Linked DNA regions of Homo sapiens: all the other regions are linked to region 3. Evidence: promoter capture Hi-C in 16 types of primary human blood cells and fetal thymus (Javierre and others, 2016). All regions are on one chromosome and are shown on one strand. Each heading gives the region's core, a stretch centred on a gene start or on the middle of the fragment in contact. The rest is flanking DNA. Distances are from core to core; before and after follow the strand shown.

What was found. The method cuts DNA at HindIII sites, captures the fragments that hold promoters and counts their contacts. A CHiCAGO score of 5 or more calls a contact.
Region 1: a contact is called between the fragment with the promoter of SESN1 here and the fragment with the promoter of GTF3C6 in region 3, in 1 of 17 cell types (activated CD4 T cells). The highest score is 6.0, in activated CD4 T cells.
Region 2: the fragment with the promoter of AK9 here is called in contact with the fragment with the promoter of GTF3C6 in region 3 in 1 of 17 cell types (total CD4 T cells); the score reaches 5.9 in total CD4 T cells.

Annotation. Positions count from the first base shown.
Region 1 is chr6:109,093,298-109,096,945 of GRCh38, forward strand. It overlaps SESN1 (sestrin 1), which reads right to left and starts at 1,549. Exons shown (of 10, transcript NM_014454.3): 1 at 498-1,549. The coding sequence starts at 776. CEP57L1 (centrosomal protein 57 like 1) reads left to right here and starts at 2,210. Exons shown (of 11, transcript NM_001271852.3): 1 at 2,210-2,278. RefSeq lists enhancers at 917-1,066, 1,937-2,196 and a silencer at 1,177-1,876. The HindIII fragment of the contact is 3,523 bases long and covers 1-1,885 here.
Region 2 is chr6:109,689,222-109,692,916 of GRCh38, forward strand. It overlaps AK9 (adenylate kinase 9), which reads right to left and starts at 1,981. Exons shown (of 41, transcript NM_001145128.3): 1 at 1,926-1,981. It overlaps FIG4 (FIG4 phosphoinositide 5-phosphatase), which reads left to right and starts at 2,075. Exons shown (of 23, transcript NM_014845.6): 1 at 2,075-2,280. The coding sequence starts at 2,215. RefSeq lists an enhancer at 1,559-2,028. The HindIII fragment of the contact is 5,228 bases long and covers 1-3,695 here.
Region 3 is chr6:110,956,134-110,959,980 of GRCh38, forward strand. It overlaps GTF3C6 (general transcription factor IIIC subunit 6), which reads left to right and starts at 2,573. Exons shown (of 6, transcript NM_138408.4): 1 at 2,573-2,693; 2 at 3,039-3,119. The coding sequence starts at 2,637. RefSeq lists an enhancer at 2,446-2,895. The HindIII fragment of the contact is 8,604 bases long and covers 915-3,847 here.

The sequences.
Region 1 (3,648 bases), core at 299-2,798, 1.9 Mb before region 3:
GGTTTTTATTATTTTATATAATTCTCTTCTTGAAAAAAGAGAGGTTGCATTTAGAGAACACATCCTGGTTTGTTTTGTTTTTAAAAATAAGAGAAAATTGTTCCACCAATTATCTTGAACAGGCTGACTAGGAAACATTTAATATCCTTTATCATTTTAGAGGCTTTTAAATGTGAGCCTTTACACTCAGAACACTGTGACAATGTGAAAAAAAAACACTGGCTACATTTTCCAACAACATGTAAAAAGAAATATAAGGAAAAACAAGTATTTACTTGGAATTAACTGTAGTTTTCATATATTCTTCCAGGAGCAAAGCAGTTTCTGCCTAAAACTCTAGAAAAACACTACTTGTTTACTTACAGAACACTCTAAAGATGTAAACTCATAATAAAAGTTTACATAACAACCTAATAGAAACAAACACAACGTGAATAACGGCAAGTAAAATTTAACTGTAGTAGAGACATAGTTGTATTTAAAATGCTCTTCCTTACCTGGATGCTCTTCAGAATAAACTCACTTTTCTCTCTCACATCTTTGAAGGGACACCTCTTAGAAAGCATAAGCAGATGAGCAAGTAGCTTATTCAACCCATCCGAAGACTCGGTATTTGAAAGCCCGTCTGATGGACGATGAGGTGTTTCTTTCACCGAACGAAGATACTCGGTTTTCCTCAAAATGGTTTGCCTAATGTTTTCCAATGCTGTCTCCCTAGTAGTTGAATCTCTGCTGCAGAGTCCATCCCATCTCACTTCATTCTCTCCTTCAGCCATGACAATAGTTTTTCCTTTGCGGTCTTCAGTTACCTTTCAGCATGCCCCAAAAAAATTGCTTTGTATTTTTAAAATGAAAAATGTAAAAATAAAATCAGAGAAATCAAATCGTCATGAAAACACACATCTGGGTGACATTTGGAACCACTGGTGCCTTCAGCCGATCTACAAGCTAGGTCACCCTCTCACCCTCTCCTTGTACACGAAAGGGCAGTCTTCTTTCTGGAAAAACAAAGTTTGAAAGTTGCAACCTTGCAGCGCTGGCTTTGGTGGGCAGAGAATTTCGGGGAAGCGTTCTCCTCCGTCTCGCGGGGTCAGTGGATATCCTCACGTTGTGGAGCTGTCAAATCCGTGCTCTGCCCCAAAAGGCTGTTAACAGCTGAACGCCCTCCAGCCATTCGGGGCTTTTTTGTCTGTGCAGCCACCGGGTTCTCTCCGGCGTTCCCACCCCGCCCCTTCTCCGACACCAGTCCCCGCCCTCCGCAGCTCCTCCCAGCGCCTCAGCAGCCGGCCGGCGCCGGCAGGGAAGGCTCGCCGAACCCTGGCCCACTGGCCGCAGCGGCCGGAGGCTTGGGCGCTGTCGGAGGGCGGCAGTCTCGGGCAGCCGTAGTCTCGGCGGGCGGCGGTGAAAAAAAGCGTCCCCCAGCCCCGCCAATTCGGCACCCCCGGGAAGACGCTACTTCTCCGATCCCTGAGCCCTCGCCCACCACCGCCGAGCCAGAGGGCACAGGGCGGCCCTGGCAATCCTCGAGCGCCAGGCTGGGCCGCGGAGCTGGCGGGGCGGCGGGGCCCGAGGCGCAAAGCCCGCCCTTCGCCCAGCCCCATCGGTGGGGATCAGCCCAGAGGGCGGGAGCAGGGAGTGGAGACGGGGTCCTCACCCCCAGCCCCTCCCCTTTCTCCGCCCGGCACAAACCGGGAGCCGCCCCGGCCCCAGCGCCTTCTTCCCCGCCCAGGCAGACGCGACCCGCCGAGGCAAAGCCTTAGGAAAAAGCCCCGCCCTCTGGCAGGCTACCCTCCGGACCCCAAGTGCGCCGCGCGCGGCTGCCAGCCACTGCCGGCTGCTACGCATGCGTGACTGCGAACTGGGCCAAGCGCCCCCGGAGGCGCTAAGCTTGCGCCCTGAGGCGGTTTCCGTTCCCGGACGTTTGGACTCTGTCCTGGAGAAGGGGAAGGAAAAAGTAAGACGTAGAAGTACACTGAGACTTCGTCACACATAAAACAAGCACGACAAAGAAAGAGGGCGCGAAGGGACTCCTGGAAGAAATTGAGTCTACATTTAAGATCACCCTAAAAGTAGTGACGGCCTCTTCATTACTCCAAACCCCAGATTTAAGTCGGTAGGACGTCTTCGCGTTGACTTGTGGGGAATGTAGTTTCGATGCTGCCGGCGCGTTTTGTTTGCGACAGAAACTACAACCCCCAGGGGCCACCGCGACGTTGCCTGTGGGTGCCCGCGAACCAACGGTTAGCGGTGGCAGGGGCTGACTGAGAGCGTCTGCTTGGTAAGCACTGTAAGCTGGGTTGTCACCTTTCCTTGACAGGGTTTTTCCTTCCTCCATTTCCTCTGGGATTTTGGAGACAAAGCCATCTAGGGTGGCCTCCCTTAGTCCAAGGACTTTTTCCAGTGACTTGCGTGGGAAGGACTAGTCCAGCTGCCCAAGCGCGGGGTGTGGTGGGTGAGGCAAGGATTTGGGATCCTGATCCCAAGGGTCGCAGGGAGCGGCCTAAGTAAGGCCAAGAAGGAAGGATGCTGTGGAAACTGGAGCTTCGCGCTGCTGCCTCTGATTCCGCCCTTTTTTGTGGACACACGCGGGGTGGATTTGGGATCTCCGCGCATTTGCACCTTTGTTTGCCTTTGCTTAGGGATGTTCTGGGCTTTATTTGCTCAGTCAAATGAAATCCTAGGCAGGGCTTTGAAAGCAAGTTGTCAAATCCATCTCGTAAAAGAATCCCCAGTATTCCTAGATAGGAATTCTTGCAGGCTTTAAGGATACAGCAGGAAAAAGAAAGCAAAACCGTAAAAGTCTCCAAAACTTAGTCGACTTTTTCAAAAGATTCAGTCATTTGCTTAAAATTAGTTTGCTTTTAAAAAGTTATTATTTGAGAAAAGTCGAGGTTTGAACGGCCATCAGTGGACTGATAATCGGTGTAGATTTTAATTCTTTACATTGCAGAATTGCATTGCACTAAATTCTAAAAATTTCGTCTTGCTAGGCACTGAGTATACAACAATGAAAAAGACAGTCTTACTAGTTAGAGGAACTAGTTGTTAGACATACGGTTACAATAATACATGATATCACTGGGATGTCTAGAAGGAGATGACTTAGCCCAATCTTGGAAAGTCAGGGAAATCTTCATCCCAGGGGAAATGAAGACCAAAAGAACAGCATATGCTAAGGCCCAGAGTGAGAGATAGGGTACTTTCAGGAAACGTCAGTAAGCCAAATCATGCATACTTGGCGGTGTGGGGTGGGACGGGAAGGGTGCTTTTTGTGTATTGATGCACTTAGAAGCTACAAAGAGACAGGTATTGTGAATTCTTTACATCGTTTCTGTAAGTGAGCTATTTTTGAATAGATGCATAGTTCTGATGAATTGGTCTAATTTCAAAAGCCTTGTTACATTCTGACACTTCTAGTTTGAATCTGAATTTTAAAAAGGGAATAACTTATGAGTGTGATTGAAAAAGCAAAACAAAAACCATTCCGTTTTCATCTCCTTTTTGGGATCTTCATTCTCTATCCAGCCCATAAAGGGTCGGGTAGTTTCTTAAGGCTGGGTGCCTTTTTATGCCGTAGTTAAATATGATCTCATGTATACCCATGGCTTCACCAACACCTATGACTCTCAAATGAATAGCTCCATTCAG
Region 2 (3,695 bases), core at 731-3,230, 1.3 Mb before region 3:
TGAGACTAGCCACTACCTTAAAGAATTAGGGTGGCATGGTGTGAACTTGATGTGGAGGAAGAATGGATACGAGTGCTGCAAAGGGTGGAATGTAGCAGCTGCTATTAGTGCCTCCCCCATATCCACTTGACATACACCTTTTCTATGCACGACCAGCCCAACTTCCAAAATGTTAGCATGTGCGACTTTTTGCCTAAGGGCTTTCTCTGGCTGCCAGAACCTACTCTCCCTGAACACAGGGTAGACTGGAAGTTCTAGGGCATCAATGTTCTGCCCTATCAGGCTTCATCCAATAACTGATGGAAGTTGGCGAATAAATACTCCAGCTTCCTTGCCCCTCAAGAGGGGATAACTGAGACATGCCTCCCAGTATTCCCTAGTGAATTCAGCCCACAGAGAAATTTCTCTGGTAATATTTCCTTTATTAGTTTTCTTCCCCTCCCTGCTGCTGTTTCCTGGGATTACGTCTCATATAAACAACCTGCCTTCAAAGTTTTGTCTTAGGATCTGATTCCGGGTGAAATAAACTAAGATAAAGTTAAAATGGAAGTGCTAAACTATAATAATTGAAAACTAGAATCCTTCAGGTATTTTAAGAGTTGCTATCCTAGATAAAAACACTGTGCAAACATTTAACTAATATTCAGAAGAGTTGGTTTCATTATGAAACAGAACACAGCTAACTATTTTTCCCAGTTAAAAGATCCAAGTCCAAAATGCCAGAACGGACACGGCCATCCTTCTAGTTCTTAATAAAAGGAGTACCAAACTACAGGGGGAAAGAAGCGCAAAATAACATAGACTTAAGTATTTCTTTACAATTTTTGTAATTTCTCAAATTTTAATTTACAATATGATCTTTGGTATTACATGAATGTTATCTGGGTATGCTATAATTCTATAATTTTTTTTTAAAGTTTCCTTACACTTAGCAGTTGAGAAGCCCTCTAGCAGAGGTTTCTGAGGTTTAGAGGTTTCCTGGGAAACCTAGAATTGCCGCCTAAGATAGGATAGCTGCCTCTCCCCTACATCTTATACTCTTGCAGTAGGTGTTCAGTAAATATTTGTGGAATAAATACTTCAGTCGTTGAAAGGAGACGTGGTTTTAAAAAGTGGATTTACAAAGAGACCGTTTTGCAAGAAAAGAAGCTGGTCTGGGGGTCCCCGCAGGAGGCGGGGTTCCGTGCAACAGATACCAAGATGCCTCCAGGGCGGACCACGACCCAGCGGGCCGCCGGAAGGCTCCTTACCTGGCCGCAGCCGGACCCTCCTCAGGGAAGCAACTGCCTCCAGGGACTCCGCGGGGCTGTCGGGCGGTTGCCGGGGAGACCTCTGGCCGCCACGCACCTGCTGCTTGGTGGGGCGGGGCCTCGAGAGGCGGGGCTGTAGTTCTTTGTCATTTCTTTTCCAATTCGAAATAGTCACTTTTGTACCTAATTTGGCATTTATAATTATAATACACTCATTTTCACAACTATGGAAGAGAGGGTACGCGCATGCCCATTTATGTCGCACACATGAAATGAAGAAACCTCATTTCAAGCGCGGCTCCGCCACACTGCGCTAGTCTCTGTCGACAACTTCAAGTGGCTAGCCTCACGCACAAACGTGTGGCAAAGCCACACTTTCCAGCTTTAGGTGATTTTAAAACAATTTCTTGGGCCACACAGCGTAGGTACAACATGGATTAGAGGTGAGGGGAAAACTGACACTCAGTGAAGGACCGTCAGAGGGCCGGCTTCCAGGAAAATGGGCCGCAGCAGGCAGGGAAAACACAAGGATCTATCCTGCAACTCGGAGAACCCTTTTCAAAAGAAGCTACCCAATCCCAAACCTTCCGCTTTTTTCCAAAGAGAGGGAGGAGATAAATAGACTCAATTAATCCGTCGACTTTTTCTCCGCCCATGTTTTCCTCCAATCCTTACCAAAGATGGTGCCCTTCGCTTCCTCTCTCGGCAGCACGCAGGTCCCGGGAGCCTCTACCCGACCTCTCTATGATACGTCCTCCAGCCCCGCTCCCGACGTGAGGGGCGGGGCTTGCCTGGAGGCGGGGCGCAGGGATCCGGAAACACCTGATCATCTATAGGTTTAGTGCCTAATGGGTGTTGTTCCTGGCTGGACTTGATGTCCAGGGCCTGAGGGGTTTTCTCGCCGAGTCTCCTGGGGCGGTCCGGAGGCTCGTGCCCTGTTGTGGGGCCCCCATTTGCCGCCGCCATGCCCACGGCCGCCGCCCCCATCATCAGCTCGGTCCAGAAGCTGGTTCTGTATGAGACTAGAGCTGTGAGTACCCCCTCGCGGCGGGGCGCAGGCGGGAGGATGGATGTCTGCCGGTGGGTGTGGGGCCGTAGGACAGAGGCTGTACTCTGCCTCCTCCTCCTTCCTCTCCAGTTCCCAAATCCCTGTCAAACACAGCCTTGGGGTAAGCTAGCTCCCTTGAGCTGTGCCTGGGCGCCTTTCCCCTATTTTGGTACCCTGGACATTGCAGCATTTGCAGGTCCACTTACAAGCCATGGCTGGAACACGCTGGAAACAGGTGCTTGTGGTACCTCAGGAACTGTTCATGAGGTTCTCTGTACGAGTTACTGGATTCTTTTCAGCTTTCAGAAAGTCTGTTAAAGTTCTAGAGTTCACAAGTTACAGTACAGGCAGGGGTATGAAAAAAATTTGAACTATGACTTGTAACTTATTTTTTCCTATTCCATGGTATACCATCACTGCGATTCATGTGAATTACACTTCTATTGGTGAACTTTTTGGTTCTCTTTTTTTCTTATTTGAAAGGAAAGGAAAACTTACTTTGTTTAAAGACAGATAATTTGTTTGGATAACATCTTGCTTTTCACTTGACTTTTTTCAACATAACATTTACTTTTAAAATTTTATTACTTTGAATGGCCATGTAAATAGTGAATAAGCAGATCAGTTTGTATTTCGATTACCAGTTCCTCAATTAAGGGAGAATGGTGTTTATATAACTTCATACTTGGTCCTTTCTGTGGGTGGAAAGCAAAGTTGGTACAGTATAGCTCTTCTAAATTGGGGTGCCACAGTGATATTAGGGACTGTGTTTAATATTACCCATTTCATGCTAACAAGATTGCATATGCCAGATATTTTCATAATGCTCTTCACTATGTTATAGAGTGCTTTATAAACTGTTTCTCTGAAACTTGGGTTGTCTCCATTAGAGGAGTATGAGAAGGCATTTAACAGTTTCTCAGTTATAACGTAGTCCTAATAGCACAATAACCTCTCCCTCAGGTTAACATGAGTAGAGAATTGTGGACCTTAAATTAATTTTGCTGACAACTTTGATTAGATCTAGAGCAGAAAATGACATTATCAAATATACTGTATTTGCAAGTATTTTCAGTTCTCTAATGAGACCCATAAAGAAGTATCATTTGTCATTGAAATGAAACCTATTTTCTGTAAAATATGCTGCTAAATTTCCCTCATTAGAAACATAAATAACTTTTTTTTTTTTCCCTTTGAGACAGAGTCTTGCTCTGTCACCCAGGCCGGAGTGCAGTGGTGCTATCTCGGCTCACTCACTGCAACCTCTGCTTCCCAGGTTCAAGAAGTTCTCGCACCCCAGCCTCCCAAGTAGCTAGGATTACAGGAATGTGACACCATGACCGGCTAATTCTTGTGTTTTTAATAAAAGACAGGGATTCTCCATGTTGGCCAGGCTG
Region 3 (3,847 bases), core at 1,323-3,822:
ATGGTGAAACCTGTCTCTACTAAAAATACAAAAATTAGCCCGGTGTGGTATCGTACACCTGTAATCCCAGCTACTAGGGAGGCTCAGACACAAGAATTGCTTAAACCCAGGGGGCAGAGATTGCAGTGGGTCAAGATCACGGCACTGCACTCCAGCCTGGGCGACAGAGCCAGACTCCGTCTCAAAAAAAAAAAAAAAAAGGAAAAAAAAAAGCTCCCTTTTAACTGTGTATTCTTTTGTAAATCATTAAAAGTAAATAAAAATAATTACTTCATAAATACCAAACAATAACTTTTGCTAGAAGTATGAGGCTTGTTTATTTTAAAGGGACATCTTGAGTTATAACACACTAACCTTTCAAAACACACATATTTTCATTCCTCAAGCCTTTGTTTCTGCTGTTCCCTCAGCTTGGATTATCCACTCCTCCTTACTCTCCCCACATCTCCCTCAAAATCTGACAATTTATGTAATTTTTCAGTTTACCAAGTATTTTTAGATATACGATTGAATTTTTGCTTTCCAAGCAAAAAAGACACAGTAAGTATTATTATTATTTTTTGAGACGGAGTCTTGCTCTGTCGGCCAGGCTGGAGTGCAGTGGCACAATCTTGGCTCACTGCAAGCTCCGCCTCCCGGGTTCACGCCATTCTCCTGCCTCAGCCTCCGGAGTAGCTGGGACTACAGGTGCACACCACCATGCCCAGCTAATTTTTTTGTGTTTTTAGTAGGGACAGGGTTTCATCGTGTTAGCCAGAATGGTCTCAATCTCCTGACCTTGTGATCCGCCCGCCTCAGCATCCTAAAGTGCTGGGATTACAGGCTTGAGACACCGCACCCGGTGTTAAGTATAATTATTTTCATCCTCATATAATAAATAAGAAAACTGAGGTTGGAAAACTTCACAATTATTAAGCTTCAGAGCTAGAATTGAAATGTACTTCTAACAGGTCCAGTGTTCCTTCTACTTTTTTAAGCTATGAAATCCTATACATTTAATTAGGCAACTGGACAAAAATATACACAAAAGAGTGTTATTTACAATATCCACAAATTGTAAATAACCTATGTGTTAAAAAATAGAGGATCAAGTTATGGCACACTCATACAACCATTATGTAAAGACAGGCGCTGTGGCGTGCACCTGTAGTCCCAGTTACTCAGGAAGCAGAGGTAGGAGGCTCCCTTTGAGCCCAGGAGTTTGAGGGTACAGGGAGCTACGATGGCGCCACTGCACTCCAGGCTGGGCGACAGAGCCAGACCCTGTCACAAAAAAGAAAGGAAAGAAAGAGAGAAAGAAAGAAACAAACAATGAATAAAAGAAAGAGAGAAAGAGCATCATACTAAAAAATTTATATATTACTACTAATAATAGATTAAATGCACTTTAAATGCTTACTATGTGCTGAATACTGGGCTAAATTTATTTTATATGTATTGTCTCATTTAATCCTCACAACCACCAATCTGCCCAAAGCCTTGCTGTTAATAATGCAGCAGAACTTGACTGGTATTAAAATCCAAAGCTCAGGCTGGGGACGGTGGCTCACACCTGTAATCCCAGCATTTTGGGAGGCCCAGGCAGGGGGATCGCCTGAGGTCGGGAGTTCGAGACCAGCCTGACCAACATGGAGAAACCCCGTCTCTACTAAAAATAACAGAATTCGCCGGGCGTGGTGGCGCATGCCTATAATCCCAGCTACTCGGGAGGCTGAGGCAGGAGAATCGCTTGAACCCGGGAGGTGGAGGCTGCAGTGAGCCGAGATTGCACCATTGCACTCCAGCCTGGGTAACAAGAGCAAAACTCCATCTCCAAATAAATAAATAAATAAAAATCCAAAACTCACGATCTTAACCACTAGATCACGCTATCGCAAGTACGAAGACCGTTTCTTTCACAATCACAAACATCTATGGGATACTTCTGAAAATTCTGTTCAAACTTCTCTTGCCCAGGTCTCTGTGTTCCTATAACAATGTGTATCTCTTACAGCACTTGCTTGGATCCATTTATGTACCTCTCACAGATCTTATGCTCCTGCAGGCCTGAAACTTAAGCCCACTTTCTATTTTTCATAGCTCCTGGTGCAGTGCTTTTTACTGTGTAGGCGCTCATTAGTATTAAACTGAATGTGCCTTTAACTTGGCTTGGGGTACGTTGAATTGAGGATGAGCGCTCACACAATATTAAGAATTTCTTTCCAAGAAATGTGCTCGGGTCAAACACAAGGCCTTTCTGTCCATGATCCGCCTGAAACCATGGTTTCCTTGTTTTCGCCTTTATCCCTTCTGCCTTGCCAGTCCTCCCCGCCAGCGGGGCCGAGAGCCCGGCGACTCTTGCGTGACCGAGCGGGCTCCGCTGCCTACGGCAGCCCACCCCCAGCCCCTGCTCTGAGGCACCGAGAAACGAGGAGGCCCGTGGCGAGTCTCCACGTGGGTACCGGCGCTCTCGGCGCCCGTAGCCACCCGCCCGCCGGAAGCCGACATCTCGAGTTCTGGCAGAAGCAATTTGCGCGGCGAGGAGCGGAGCGGCAGGAACCCAATAAGCTGCTTCGCCTCGGAGCTGAAGCCCGTACTCAAGATGGCGGCTCCGGGCGGGCGTGGCCAGTGACTAGAAGGCGAGGCGCCGCGGGACCATGGCGGCGGCGGCGGACGAGCGGAGTCCAGAGGACGGAGAAGACGAGGAAGAGGAGGTAGTAAGCGCTACGCCAAAAGCCTGCACCGCAGTGGCGGTGATGCCTGTGCTGGCTGTGTGTGGGGAAGGGAGTTGGGGAGCTGCGGGCCGGAGGGAGGCCCCACTGCTCCTCACCGGCTTCTTGCTCCTGGGCGCGAGGAGCCGGGCAGCTTGGGACCTTAGCCCTAATCGTCACCCCGTACTTGGGATGGGAAGTACCGGGAAGTTACCTTAGGTAGCGTAGTTTCCTCTTGCTGAAAACAGGGTCCGGTTTTCACAAATGTGGGAAATTTGGCTTCTTTTGCTAATTGCTCCCTCTTGGCCGCTCGCGTGCTAGCATGTTAACCCCTCTTTCTTTCACCAGGAGCAGTTGGTTCTGGTGGAATTATCAGGAATTATTGATTCAGACTTCCTCTCAAAATGTGAAAATAAATGCAAGGTTTTGGTGAGTTTTCTAGACTTGGGGGGATTGTTCTAGAGTGTCTTAAATGTAAAACAAGAATCAATGGTGAAATACCTATCCGCAAGTATTGATATATTTATTTCACCTTACAAAGTAGTGAACTCTAAGGATAAGAAGTATACTAAGTATAATTAATTAATATGTAATTAAGTATAATGTAGAAGTACAGCGGGGACTATGGGAGCAGATAGGAGAAAATGGCTAACTTTGCTTGCCTGTTTGAATGTGTGGCTGAAGAGAAAGTTACAGATTTGGAGGAAGTAACATTGTGATATGGAACCGTACATATATTCCTGTATTCTCAGCACTTTGGGAGGCAGAGGTGGGAGGATCACTTGAGCCCAGGAATTGGAGACCATCCTAGGCAACATAACGAGACCCCTTCTCTAAAATAATAATAAAAAAAAATGGCCAGGCGCGGTGGCTCACGCCTGTAATCCCAATACTGGGAGGCCGAGGCGGGTAGATCACGAGCCCAGGAGTTCGAGACCAGCCTGGCCAACATGGTGTAACCCCGTCTCTACTGAAATACAAAAATTAGCCAGGCATGGTGGTGGGCGCCTGTAATCCCAGCTACTCGGGAGGCCGAGACAGGAGAATCGCGTGATCCCTGGAGGCAGAGGTTGCAGTGAGCCGAGATCGCGCCACTGTACTCCAGCCTGGGCAACAAAGGGCAAAACTCCATCTCAATAAAAAAAAAAAATAATAAT